Regions from separate parts of the Homo sapiens genome. Here region 1 is linked to region 2. The links are contacts of gene promoters, found by promoter capture Hi-C in human tissues and cell types (Jung and others, 2019). All regions are on one chromosome and are shown on one strand. Each heading gives the region's core, a stretch centred on a gene start or on the middle of the fragment in contact. The rest is flanking DNA. Distances are from core to core; before and after follow the strand shown. Region 1 has its middle 55 kb from the start of VAPA. Region 2 holds the start of RAB31 (RAB31, member RAS oncogene family).

What was found. Contacts are between HindIII fragments. The study calls those that stand out against the background at their distance.
Region 1: a fragment that was not itself captured here is called in contact with the fragment with the promoter of RAB31 in region 2 in 2 of the 25 tissues and cell types used here (dorsolateral prefrontal cortex and mesenchymal stem cells).

Annotation. Positions count from the first base shown.
Region 1 is chr18:9,966,381-9,972,276 of GRCh38, forward strand. No RefSeq gene overlaps it. Among named protein-coding and RNA genes, the nearest start is that of VAPA, 55 kb to the left of the region's middle. The HindIII fragment of the contact is 3,242 bases long and covers 2,134-5,375 here.
Region 2 is chr18:9,702,894-9,709,793 of GRCh38, forward strand. RAB31 (RAB31, member RAS oncogene family) reads left to right here and starts at 5,408. Exons shown (of 7, transcript NM_006868.4): 1 at 5,408-5,551. The coding sequence starts at 5,513. LOC124904244 (a long non-coding RNA gene) reads right to left here and starts at 5,079. Exons shown (of 2, transcript XR_007066281.1): 1 at 981-5,079. LOC105371981 (a long non-coding RNA gene) reads left to right here and starts at 5,779. Exons shown (of 2, transcript XR_935131.2): 1 at 5,779-6,900. RefSeq lists silencers at 5,103-5,672, 5,773-6,002. The HindIII fragment of the contact is 12,091 bases long and covers 1-6,900 here.

The DNA.
Region 1 (5,896 bases), core at 2,505-5,004, 260 kb after region 2:
ATGATCCAGGATTACCTGGAGTGAGTGATCCTCCGATCTGTCATCAGAGGGTCAACAGCAGCCTCATGCTGCATCACCTCACTTCCTGTCGTAGGCCTGCTCCTCTCACATCTTCACCAGAAGAAGGCTGATGCAGATGACCGCGGCTTATGACACTTTAACTTGGGATTTGACTGTAAGGTGATGCAAAGGTGATCTGCACTCAGGAAAACCCATACTTCCAGTACCATTCAACATTGTTTTCCACTACAGCACAGCATTCAGTAAATTACACGAGACATTTGACACTTCATAATGAAGTGGGCTTTGTGTTAGAGGACTTTGCTCAACTGTAGGCTAATGTAAGTGTTCTGAGCACGTTTCGGGTAGGCCAGGCTAAGCCATGATGTTTGGTAGATGAGGTGTATTAAGTGTATTTTTGATATGCAGTATTTTAATGTGTGATGGGTTTATTGGGACATAAGCCATTGTAGGTTGAGCAGCATATGTACAGTACAGTGAGATATTTTGAGAAAGAGTGTGAGCATGCACCTTCACATAACTGGTATTACAGTATATTGTTATAATTGTTCTCTTTTATTAGTTATTGTTGATCTTATTGTCCCTAATTTATACATTAAACTTTATGTTTATGTATAAATTTCCTATTCATAAGTATGTATGAATAGGAAAAATGTGTATACAGGGTTTGGTAGTACCTCTGGTTTCAGGCATCCACTGGGGGTCTTGGAATGTATCCCCTGAGTATAAGCGGGGGGACTACTGTAGTTGTCTGTTGTGACTGTACAAGGTTACCACAAATTTAGTGACAAAAACCAACACAAATTTATCCTAAAGTCCCTCTCCTTTATCTAAATTAAAATATCAGCTGGGCTCCAGGGCAGACTCCATTCCTGGCCTTTTCCATCATCGAGGGGCCACCCACATTCCTTGGCTTGTGTGGCCCCTCCTGCGGTCACATGACACCAACCTCTGCTTCCACCATCTCTTCTCCTTCTGTGACCCTCCTGCCTTCCTGTTACAGGTACCCCTGCGATGACACTGGGCCCACCTGGCTGATCCAGGGCCATCTCTCCATCTCAAGAGCCTTCACTTAATCACAGCCAAAGTCCCTTCATGGAAGGTTACATATTCAGGGATTCTGGGGGTTAGGATGTGAACATGTTCCGGGGCATCATTTCCCCCACTCCCTCAGTCGGTGCTCTTCAGCCTGGGCCAGGTCTCTGGCAACTGGGAAAGTAGAAGGTCTGTATCCGAGCCAGTCAGTACATCCCAGTGCTTCAGAGACCACGGAGAGACCCAGTCAGAGCCAATGAAACCTTAGCCTTTCAACGGATCTCCGTTTCCTTTGGTCTTATCGTCCCCTTCAGCCCCTTTCAGGTTAGTTCAGGCTCTTTTTCATATTCAGTTCAAAGTTTGTTATCGACACTGCGCTTGTCTGAAAGATTTGGATTTCACTGGTGCTTCTGGTCCTCTGGGTCTCCGCAGCGCCCGCATCCTGTTCCTGCTCCAGCGTCCCCTCACCCCCACCATCGCACTCCCCCTAGGGCAGGGCCGGTGCTCCCCAAATCAGGGGTACTTCCTGAGTCGCGGGTGGGAACTTGTGACCCTTCCCTATCACAGATCGGTGAGGGTGACTCTCGGCTCTCCCGGGCTCTCTTTCTTCGTAACCACAGAGCGCCGGCTTTCCATCTGTCCCCTCGCCCCTCTTCCCTGCTCCCAGCCCAGATATGTCCTCGAATTATAGACTTACATCCCCAACGACTTTGGCCATGTGTCCGATACCTCGGACTTAATATGTCCAGAACTGAATCCAGTCTCCCTCACACCCAGGCTTGCTCCATGCAGGCCTCCCCCATCCGCATTCTTTCCTTCACTCAAACCTCGGAGTCATCCTTGCTTGGAGCATTCCCTTCCTTCCCATGCCACAGCACAGCCCGTCTTGTCAACGCTGCTGCTGGCTCTACTTTCAAAACACACCCAGAACCCAGCTGCTTCTTGCCACTTCCATGTTTTGTCCCCTCTATTTCCTTCATTTCCTCGACAGTCTCAGCAGGTCTCCCAGGCGCCCCCGTGTCCCCTCAGCCTGTCTTAGAGCAGGAACCAGAGCGGTCCTGTTAAACACAGGTCGGAGGGGTGTTTTCCTGTGCTCAGACTCTCCAAGCCGTCCCCCTTCACCGTGAGTAAGAGTGGGGAGCTGGCACTGGCCCGCAGGGCTCCAGCGTCCCTGCCCTGACCCCGCTTCCCCCTCTAGCCCCATTCCTTCTCCCTCCACTCGCCCCACGTCGTTCTGCCGTCACGCTGGTCTCTGGATATTCACGGAGCATTCGCACATTCCAGTCCCGGAGCCTATACCCGCTGTGGCCTCTGCCCCAGTGCTGTCCTCTGTGTGTCCGCGGGGCTCACTCCTCAGCTCTCCCAGCCTTCACTTAGGTCACCTTCTCCGTGAGGCCTTCCTGGGTCTCTCCAACTGAACAATGGCACCGTCCCTTCACACTCTGGCCCCTCGCTCGGGCTCCCCTCACCCCCATGGAATGTGCCATACCTGTCTTCATTTCTCTTGCGGTCTGCTCCTCCACCAGAACGCAAGCTCCCTAAGAGCAGCGCTTTCAGACGTTTTGTTCACTGCTGCCTCCCCAGTGCCTGTTAACGGCCTGGCATACAGTTAGGTGCTCAGTAAGTCTTTTTTGAAAGGAGAGAGAGAAAACGCACAATTGTGCATGCACACGGGGTAGCCATATAAAATGGGCTCTTACTACGGATTGTGGTTAAAAGAAAAATCTGAAAGCCCTGCCTCAACTGAAACCTACCCCGCCTGCTTCTCCTCATCTTCATTTCTGCGCAGAGCTCCAGACTTCCCATATGGGATCCACAAACCTCCTCGCTCTTCATCTTCTAGGGACAGCCTTTTGCCGCCAGGCTCCAACAGAAGCTGAGATGTCTCCTGGGGGCCCTGCTGTGGTCTGGAATGGAGAAGACCCTTCCACGCTGGGAGGAGGGGCTGGTTTCCTTCCTCGTTTTCACGCCTGTTCTGAGGTTTTCTTTCCTCCCTCTTGCAACAGCCCAGGCTTGTTTCCAGCTCGCGCCGCCCTCAGCCCACCTCGCTCCTTCCCTCTTCCAGCCTGCACCCTCCCCTGCCCGCCACGCTCTCGGGGGTCATCGCTGGGCGGGTTGCTGTTTGTTGACCTCCCCCTTCCAGGGCACTTTCTTCACACACCTGTCATTCACTGTCCTGAGGGAGAGTTTTTGTCACCACTGGGCAGAAACATCTCTGAAATCTCGGCTGCAGATAACTGCTTTCCAATCACAGCGATCCTTTCATCCGAGTTGCAGAAATATCCTCTATGGCCATAACTTCTTACCTCAACTCTTCCACTCACGAAGTCACCACTTTCTTACTAAGAGTGGCCTTTTCTTGGTTCCCTGGCTGGCATTCGATGCCAGTGCTGCCAACTTCACTGCTTCCACCGGCTCCACAGCTGCCTGGCACGCCCAGCCCCTCGGGGTTTGCTGGCTCGGGGCGTCCCCTTCATTGTAGTTCAGGGCCCCTTCAGTGCACATTTAGGGTGAGCCGGTGTGTTAAGCCACACCACACTGACTTTGGGAGATGGGCCGATGCTGGCCTTAGACTGCAGGGACTGCGTTGAGACTTTTCTGGAAACATATAGGTGTGCCTGCATGGAGACTTTTCTGGAAAGCCATCCTGGAAGTGGCCATTTGGAAAGCAGGCAAGCCTTGACCCTTGGGAAAGGTGGGACTTCCTCTCCCCGGGCCCAGGGAGTGGGAGGGGAGAGGATTGGCCTGTGGCTTTGTGGAATTTGGTGTTTTCCCACGGGGGGAGATGGTAGTTGCAGAGCCTGGGAGGTTCCTTTAGCTTCAAGGGGACTTGTCTGTGTCCAGGCCCTCTCTCAAGCACAAGAGAAAGGTGACGATGCAGGATCCTTCCCTCAGGTGACACCCTCTCAGCTCAGCCACCAGAGTTCATGGCCAGCCTTGGTTGCGGGTGTGGGTCTGAAGAGTGGATCATGAAAAGCTGGTGGTTCTCCTGAAGGGAAACCCTCGAAACTTCTTTCTCACCCTCTGAGGAGTTGGTGGAAATATCTCAGGCCTCCGCTTGGGAAGAACGTGGAGCAGGGCTGGTGCCGCCGCAGAGACCAGCAAGCCGGGCTTGGTTCTGCAGGAATGAGTCTGAGGCACTTGCGGGTCCTGCTCTCTCAGCGGGGGCGATGGAGGAAGCCACCCTGCCATGTCCTTGTATTTAGAGAAGGGGCTCTGGGGAAAGCGACGTGGTGCTTGACTACTTCATCATCAGATTAGGAAGATATCTGGGGCCTTAATTTGGATAACTGGGTCAAGATTATACAACAATTATGGTTATATGCAAATTCTGTTGCTTTAAAAATAGGAATCACCTTATTTAATTATTTTAGGATCACAAAGCTTCCGTCCTCCAAGAATGACCACACGGTGGACATTTCAGGAGCCTTGGAGAGCCACACCTCTAATTCCCCCATCACCCTGAACGTGCAGCTTGCCATCCTTCTGTTTTTGTCTGTAAACTGGTGGCTATTGTCCTAAATCATTTTTCTTAGGGAATTTTCCGTAACATCAACCCCAATATTTTAACAATTGTGGCGTGTTTGGGATGGGGATCCCAAGCATTTCATCAGATTCAAGCATTTCCTATACTTGGAGCTTTTTTCTTTTTGGTTTCTAAAACTAGGTAAATAAGTGTATTTGGTTTCCTAACCTCCAAAGCCTTACTGATTTAATTTTTGCTAAATGGCACTGCTGAATTTTAATGTACACAACAGAGGGTCCTTGGAGGAACCGGTGTCACTCCACTCCAGGGGCCCCTTTCTCATTGAATTTTAGATGGTGCAGAAGGAATTGGGCTAGCGCCTTTCCTAGGAAGCCATGGGAAGATTTAGCACTCCAAAAAATTGTTTTAATTCAGCACCTCCAACAACCTGTCCCCGGACTCTTGTTTTTCTTAGTGCTAAACTATAACCACCTAGAACACACGCTTTTCACATTCTGAATAGTAACTTGAAGGCTGGTGATTCTGAATAGTAACTTGAAGGCTGGTGAACCATTAAATTCAACTGTTGTAAAATCTGATCCTGCCACGAGGTGGCAGTGTGGTCTTGTGTCTTGAGGCTTTCTGCACGATGGAAAACCCAAGTTGGTTTACACTGTCTGTACTGATAGACATTTAGTACAGACAGTATAAACCAATTCCTTTCAAAAACCCACATCTCAAACAAAATCAAACTATTAAGTTTTTAGTGCAAACTGTAATTGCAGGCTGAAGGAAGCTTTCTTTTTGATTCTAAGGATAGATATAAAACTTCTCCACTCTCCCTTAGAAGATATAAGAGTTTGTTTTTCCAGTAGAAAATTAGGCTAATTACAGTGATAATGTGGGTAAGCTTTTGTGGTATCTTTGATGAAAATATATAGTAGAATAATACCTTTAATTTCATTACTAACTTTCATCTGTGTGACTTACTTTGTTGAAAGCATTAATTTTTTATAATGTCTTATAATTACAGAAGGCATTATGTGTTTTTCTTTACCTGATCCTTCCCTCAAATGTTGAATAACTTTTTGATTTCATGATTAAATTCTGGGTTCTATGTACATCTCTCTTACCACACCCCCAACATGTTAACATGTAAATAGCCTATCTTGTCCACCCATTGTCAACTGGAAGCTCTGACTGAGGGGAAAGCAAGCTTGAATAAGGGCTTAAAAAAACAGTAATTTAAAAAGCAAAAAAGTCCTAACTTTTTTATTGCTGAAAATGTTAAGACACAATTGTCTTTGAGTTTACTGTTTTGGAACTCTAATGAGGGCCATCTCATTAACTTGAATGCTTTTGAACTCAGTTTAG
Region 2 (6,900 bases), core at 4,158-6,657:
TATGCTATGCGAAGGATTGGATTATGGATGATTCAGAACAGGCTCTGTTATATTGGTAATTGGGAAAGCCCATGAATAGCAAGGAGAATAGTAGTTCAAGAATAATCTTAAATAAAATTTATGGGAGGACTGAACTCTTACACTAGGCCCAACGGACCAGACCAAACCAGAATGGAGTCACTCCTGCTAGGTGCCAGGCTGTCCAACGGAACTTTAAAAAGGGCAGCTTTTCAGAAAAATAGGAGATGCACAGCAGCTAATCAGAAGGGGCCCAGTTTACCTGAGCAGGTTTGATGAGGAAGTCCCCCATGCTTTAACCCTGCAAGGGAAGTAACTCTGAAACGCCAATCTACCTTTCGTTCCCTGTTTCTGCTTCTTCAGCCTTTCCTGCCTATAAAGTCAAGTCTTTTCCCTAGCTCATTGGAGCACATTTTCTCAATTTTTGGATGGGATGCTGCCTGATTCATTAATCAGTAATAAAAGCCAATTAAATCTTTAACGTTGTTGAAATTTTGTTTTTTTAACAATAATAACCTCAGTAGAAATAAAATTTGCAAGAGTTCTAATGTAATTGGAGCCTTAAGGCAACTCAGTTAACTATTAAATACTTAGTACAGTAGTTCAGTACTCTTAGTACAGGTTAAGCATCCCTAATTTGAAATCCAAAATGCTCCAAAATTCGAAACTTTTTGACTGCTGACACAATGCTCAAAAGAAATGCTCATTGGAGCATTTTGGATTCGGGATTTTTGGATTAGAGGTGCTCCACTGGTAAGTATAATGCAAATATTCCAAAATCGGAAAAACGCTCCTGGTCCCAAGCATTTTGGATGACGGATACTCAACTTGTACGCAGATATTCTTAGAGGCACTTCAGATTAGGAAGAGTCTGCATTAGGTTCTTCCTTATCTAGGGCAGTCTTGGGAATTCAAACAAAACACAAATCTATTTTCCCCCCATCACAAACACACACACTCACCTACCAGTTGACTAGGTTCAAACTCCAACCATCCTGATCATCTTCTCCTTTACTTGGGGGTTGATTTCAGTTGAATTCAAGGTTTGGCATCTCTGGAATTTATACCCATTTCTTGAATAAGAAGATCTACAAAAATGAAGCAACTACACCAAGCCTCAGACATTTCACATCATACAATAGTCTCCTGTTTATATGTTTGTCTCTTTCCTTTATAGCTCGACGTCAACGTGGGTCTTCTTCCGCCATTGGTCATTCTTCCAGTGTCTAGCACAGTCAGTGTCTGCTATTTGCCGAATGGGTGGGTAAACAGCTAAACATAGAAATCCCTGTGATATGAGAATCGTTGCCAACATCTAAAATTAAACCAATTTTTAGTTTGAGAGCAAATAATATCAAGGTACAAAAAAGTGAAACACAACTCCTTTTAAGAAAAAGAAATCCTAAACTCCGTGTATTACTCTGAGCAATTGCAGGAAAACTTCTGACTCGCCAGAAGAAATAACCCAAGACAGTCTATGAAACGAAACTGGGGTTGTGGTGACTTTGATCTGCATCATTGTAGTTTAATTTCTCAGTTTTACAAGTAAGCAATGAAAATGAACAGGACTGACTGAATTACATGTTACTTAGGGCTTTCGGGAGGTGGTCACAGCTGAATCAATCCGTTTACCTTCCATGGGAGGTGTTAATATATATCTTATTGCTTATTTTCTTTTAACCCAACACTTTAAGCTCAGCCAGAGATCCAAGGGACAGTGGAGGTTGCTAGGCAGGAGTGTCAGTAAAGAGGCCAGTTGGATGCTGAGGATGGCTTAAGCTGCCCAGTGCTGGCTCTCAGGAATCTGGAAAATTTAAACATTATCACCTGACACCAATCCTTTGTGAGATCCCAACAGAGCCTTCCCTGTCTTCAGTGAGAGCTGTCTACTTGTTCTGGAACACTTCTGAGCACTCCCATTTGAGGCGATGGAGACGATGAGGAGGCGAGCCCCCACCCTCCCCATCTCCCATCTAAGATGTCACCACACTTTCCACATGAAGACATCTGGAATTGCAAAGGAGGCTGTGCAGTTTCTATCCGCTTACCTAATAGCCCCTCCACCGAGCAGCCACCTTCCTTGGGGTTCTCAGGGACGCTCCCTTTCCCACAGACAGGCTCCTTCAGTTTCCAGCCTCCCCCCTCCAGCTATTGTCTCCTTTTTCAAGTCTGTGGGTGAATTGTGGGGTCCACTCACCTCTGTTTTTCTAAATCCCTCAAATCCCTTTCCTACCCTGGTATGTCCAGGATTCATCTCCTCAAAATTTGTTTAAAGGGCGTGGGTTACAAATAAGGTTAGGTAGCACATGCTATTTAGAAAGTTTCAGAAAGAGAAGGAAAGAAGGAAGGAAAGAAGGAAGGAAGGAGTTGTTACATAAATGAGAAATACTAAAAGGCTGTTTAACTGATATTGCAGACACTATAGTTCCATAAAAAAGATAAATTATGAAAAACAAGGTTTGTAAACATTTTTATCTTTCCTTAATTGGCCCTTGAGCAGACCAGATGACTCAGTACTGGTCTCCAGGGATCAGCCTGCACTCCAGGGCGTTGTGACACATTTATATTGCTTATCCTATTTAACATTTTGAGTCATATTATTTTCACAGAACCTTATTTACTATAAACGTCTCTATAAATCTACATAGTATACACATTTCATTTAATATCTAAGTAACATATACTATTGTACACCATCAAATATACCCAGTAACGACACCCTAGCTTGCTTAATCATTCCTCAAGTGTTAAGAGGTTTGAGTTACAATTAACGCAACAATCCTCCCTTTACCTCCATGGATGTAATTTTTTTGTTGTTGTTTCTCTAACCCATTTATTTGTTTTTTTTGTCTGCATATGTGTTTATATTCAAACAGGCAGCTTTGTTTACTTTTCGTCTTTGTATGTTATTGTTCAAAAAAGGATTTCCTGAATCAAAAAACATGATCAGTTTTATGACCATTACTGGCTTTTTCTGTTGGAGACTTTATAGCAGCAGAGAAGTTGAGGTCTGAATTAGCACAATGACCATTTACGTTACAAAATTCTTATAAGAAAAACTTGCATGTTCTATTTCTTAATTTGATAAATTGTCAGTTATGTACCATTGAATTTTTACCCCTGCTGAAGTTACACCAGAACTACATATTTGCAGAAAATTCCAGAGAAGTCAGGATGGGCCCTTAGTACAGTAATCATAGAGTGTAACAATAGAGAACATGGCACTTTTTTAAAAAGTCGAGAGCTGCCTCTGACGTGTCACTCTTAAAATATGTCTCCCAGCAGTCATCTTCCTGCCTTCCAGGGCTAGAGCTTTGTAGGTTACCTTAGGGTGATCATGGGGACCTGGTTTTCATGAGGCCATGTTTAAGCTCAGGGGTGACCTGGCTGGGAAGAGGGTATAAACCCATGAACACGAGTCAGTTGACAGACTAGGATTGCCACTTTGTAAAGAAGAGCCCAAGACCTGATCAGAATGAGACACAAATGAGGTCATTTTTAACAGAACTAGGGGAGGGGAGAAGGACAAATAGACTGGGGCGATTCTCAGGGAGGGAAGGGCTGGATACGAGACTCTTTTGGGAGAGCCTAGAAACGACGCAAGCGTCCCAGACACCCGGGCTAGTGGAGAAGAGAGCAGAATGAGAGCAGTCATGAAAAAGAGTAAGGGAACACAAGAGAAATTCGGTTTGCCTATTTCTGTCTGGGCACAGTTCTGCCCTTAGCAATCTAAGGCAACTTCACAAAGCTCCACTCACTGCACGGGATGTAGAACACAGTGGAGGCTTCCACCCTGGTTTGACTGGCTTTTGGGAATCAAGCTGGAAAGCCAAAAGGACATGTTTCACTGTGGAGGTGCCCTCAGGGCTGGCGAAGGCCTTGGGGGAGGTGTCTTTGCAACTGTGTAGGGGTGGTTTTCTGATTAGCAAATCTGAGGGCAGGGAGATATTGTGATCAGGACTGTTTGATTCTGGGGAAGCCTCTTTTTACCCTGCCCACATAGAAGACTCTGCTTTGGATACAGAGTCAAGGACGGATACTGATACAATGGACCTGTAACTTGTCCATGGCTGCCTTTTGTACAGTTTAGTCCATTTGAGTAATCTCTACAAGCCTGCACCTCGAGGGCAAACTTCCTGCTCTTCTGGGGAATTTAATTGTGAATTGTCTGTTTCGGGGCCCATTTTGACTCCTGTATTCCAGGACTTATCTCTTTGGAGGCCTTGATTTGGAATTTCCCATTGGATGGGGCTACTTGGGTACTGGGTAGCTTCAACCTGGCTTCCGTAAGAACAAAGCCAGATGATCACGGTGGGTGGTCTGCTAGGAGAATGGAAATGCCATTGATTAAAATTGGAAGGTTAAGAGAGAGGCCTGAGAGTTTGGGATAGGAGATGAAGTTTCAAAAAATCAGTTTTTAAAAAAACATTTCCCATCTGAAATGCCAGTGAATTGTTCAGATAGATTACATTGAAAAGGCTGACATTTCTGTAGCAGCAACGAATGAAGTCATCCGAGTGGATGAGGTGCTCTAGGCCATACATGGAGAAGAGAACACAGTTACCCAAGCCTCCCCGACTGTGTGCGGCCACAGACTCTGCTCATTTCCCAGTTAGGAACGATGCAGGGGTCTGCTGGGATCTCCACGTTTCTACCTGTACCTCTGAGGACTGGGTTTCTGCCCACACGAGTTGCAGGATTTGCTCTACTGAGAAAAAGACTTTTGCTCCAGAAAGCAAGTTTCCCGTTTCAGACACGGACAGCGAGTTTTGCTTCTAGAATCATTTTCAGCTGCATACAGAAAAATGAACTTGGCTGAGCTGAAGAGCCACACATATGTTAAACGGAAGCTCGGGTATTAGGAACGTCGAGAAAGGCAGGCCGAAAAGTTAGCCCCCTTCTCCTCACCCCTGTCCTCACAGCGGCCCCTTCAGTGGCCTGACTTTTTCTGCGTGGGACCCAGAATGTCGCTTGAGGATGGGACCCCCGCAGACCTCCACGCGCTGCCACGCAAACGGCCTCGGCCGAGAGCATTCGCTTTCCAGATGAGAATGGCATCTTCAGGGACCCGCTGGTAGTGGGGCCAGGTCTCCACAGGGCCGGTCCAGTCCTTCCTACCCACCCGGGCCCTGCGGCCAGGCGGGGCCGGGAGGGGCGGATGCCGGAGGGCGCTGGGGGAGGCCGACCCGCGCGGGGCTGGTCCGAGGGCGGAGGCAATCCGCCGGCGACGCCGCAGGTCCCGGGTGGCTGACGCCGTCCGGGGGCGTTCCTGGGAGCTGGGGGCCGGCGAGGCTGGACCCGACGCGCCCGGGAGGAGCCGGCCGGCGGCCACGTGACCCACCGCGGCGGGGCCGGCGGCCCAGAAATAGCAGCGGCGGCGGTTCCGCCCGCGGGCGGCGCGAGCGAGGGGCAGAGGCGAGAGACGCCGGCGGGGCGCGGGCGCGGCGGCCCCGGAGGATGCTGCTGAGCCCCGGCACTGCCTGGCTGCGAGCACATGATGGCGATACGGGAGCTCAAAGTGTGCCTTCTCGGGGTGAGTCCTGGCCGCCACCCGCCGGCGGACCCCGGCCCGCGCTCTCGCGCCCCTTCGCTCCCCTATTCCCTGCGCGCTCAGTCCCCGTGATCCCCTCGCTCTCCGCACCCCTCTCGTAGCCCCCGTCCCCCTCGTCCGCGCGCCCCCTGGTTCCCCGGGTCCCCCTGGCTCCCCTAGTCCGTGCGCCCCTCGCTCTCCGCGCCCCTCGCTCTCCGCACCCCGCCTGTTCTCCGCCTCCCCGCCGTCCGTGCGCCCCTCTGGTCCGCCCCCGCTCTCACCCTGCCGGGGTCCGGGTCCGAGCCTGCCCCGGGCTTACTCCGCTCTTTCCTCCCGGCCCGCGAGTCCCCGGATCCGCGGCGACCTCGCGGGGACCCCCAGCGGGGACGGGGCAGTGGCGGCGAGTCTGGGGCCCCGAGGGCTTTCTCCTCCGCTTTTGATAGTTTCCTTCCGGCAGAAAGTTTAAGTTGCTCAGCCAAGTCGCTGAGTGCTCTTTTGCCTCCTGGGGGCAATTGATTTACTCACGTAAAACAGAAAAATAAAACCAAAAGCGAACCCAGCCAAGGGGGTGAAAGCCGAGGGCGCGGCCGGGGTGGAAGGTGAGGCAGTGACCTGTGCGGAGCGCGCCCTGCAAACTTCCCTGCTGCGGGTGAAAGAAGCTGCCTGGGAAAGTCCTCCCCACCATCACTCCCCTAAAGTGGGGTTTTCTCCGCCCGAAGAAGCCTTAAAGCAGCCAGAAACAAAAAAGCAGTCAATCCGTGCGGCCCGGGGACTGCAGACAGGGGACCCGGCGAGGACGCAGGGAGCCGCTGGCGAACCGCCCCTGGGAATTCAGATAAACGTAGGGTCGCTTCCTTTCGGGGGCCCACTCCGCATTCCAGAATTCCTTCTTCTAAAAGAAGAGCCGGTTCTAAGGGCGTTTTCAGCAGCCATTAGCATCTGGTGTACCCGCCCGTGTCATTGGCAAAGCTGGTCTCATGAAAACCATTTCCTAAAAAAGGGCAGCGAAAGGGTCGCATTCTTGTGCGAACTGATCTGTCAAGATGGGGGTACAAGAACTGTAGAAAGAGGAAATGATTTCGGTGAGGACTGAATTGTGCCAGCGTCTCTAGGCTTCCTCTAGGCTCTTGTGGAACCTCCGGCAGGCTCCCATCATCGGCTCCCATCACCGGCCTCTTCCAAAACCATCCCTTACGCTAACTCGATTGTCCGGTTGGCTTAGAATTCCAGAGGATCTGGGAAGGCCCTGCCCTCCCTGCTAGCCCCTGGCACAGATCCGCACAGATCCCCACCTCCCCCGACTTGCTCAGCCACAGCCAGGATCTAGTCTGGTCTTTCTCTGTTGACCTTTT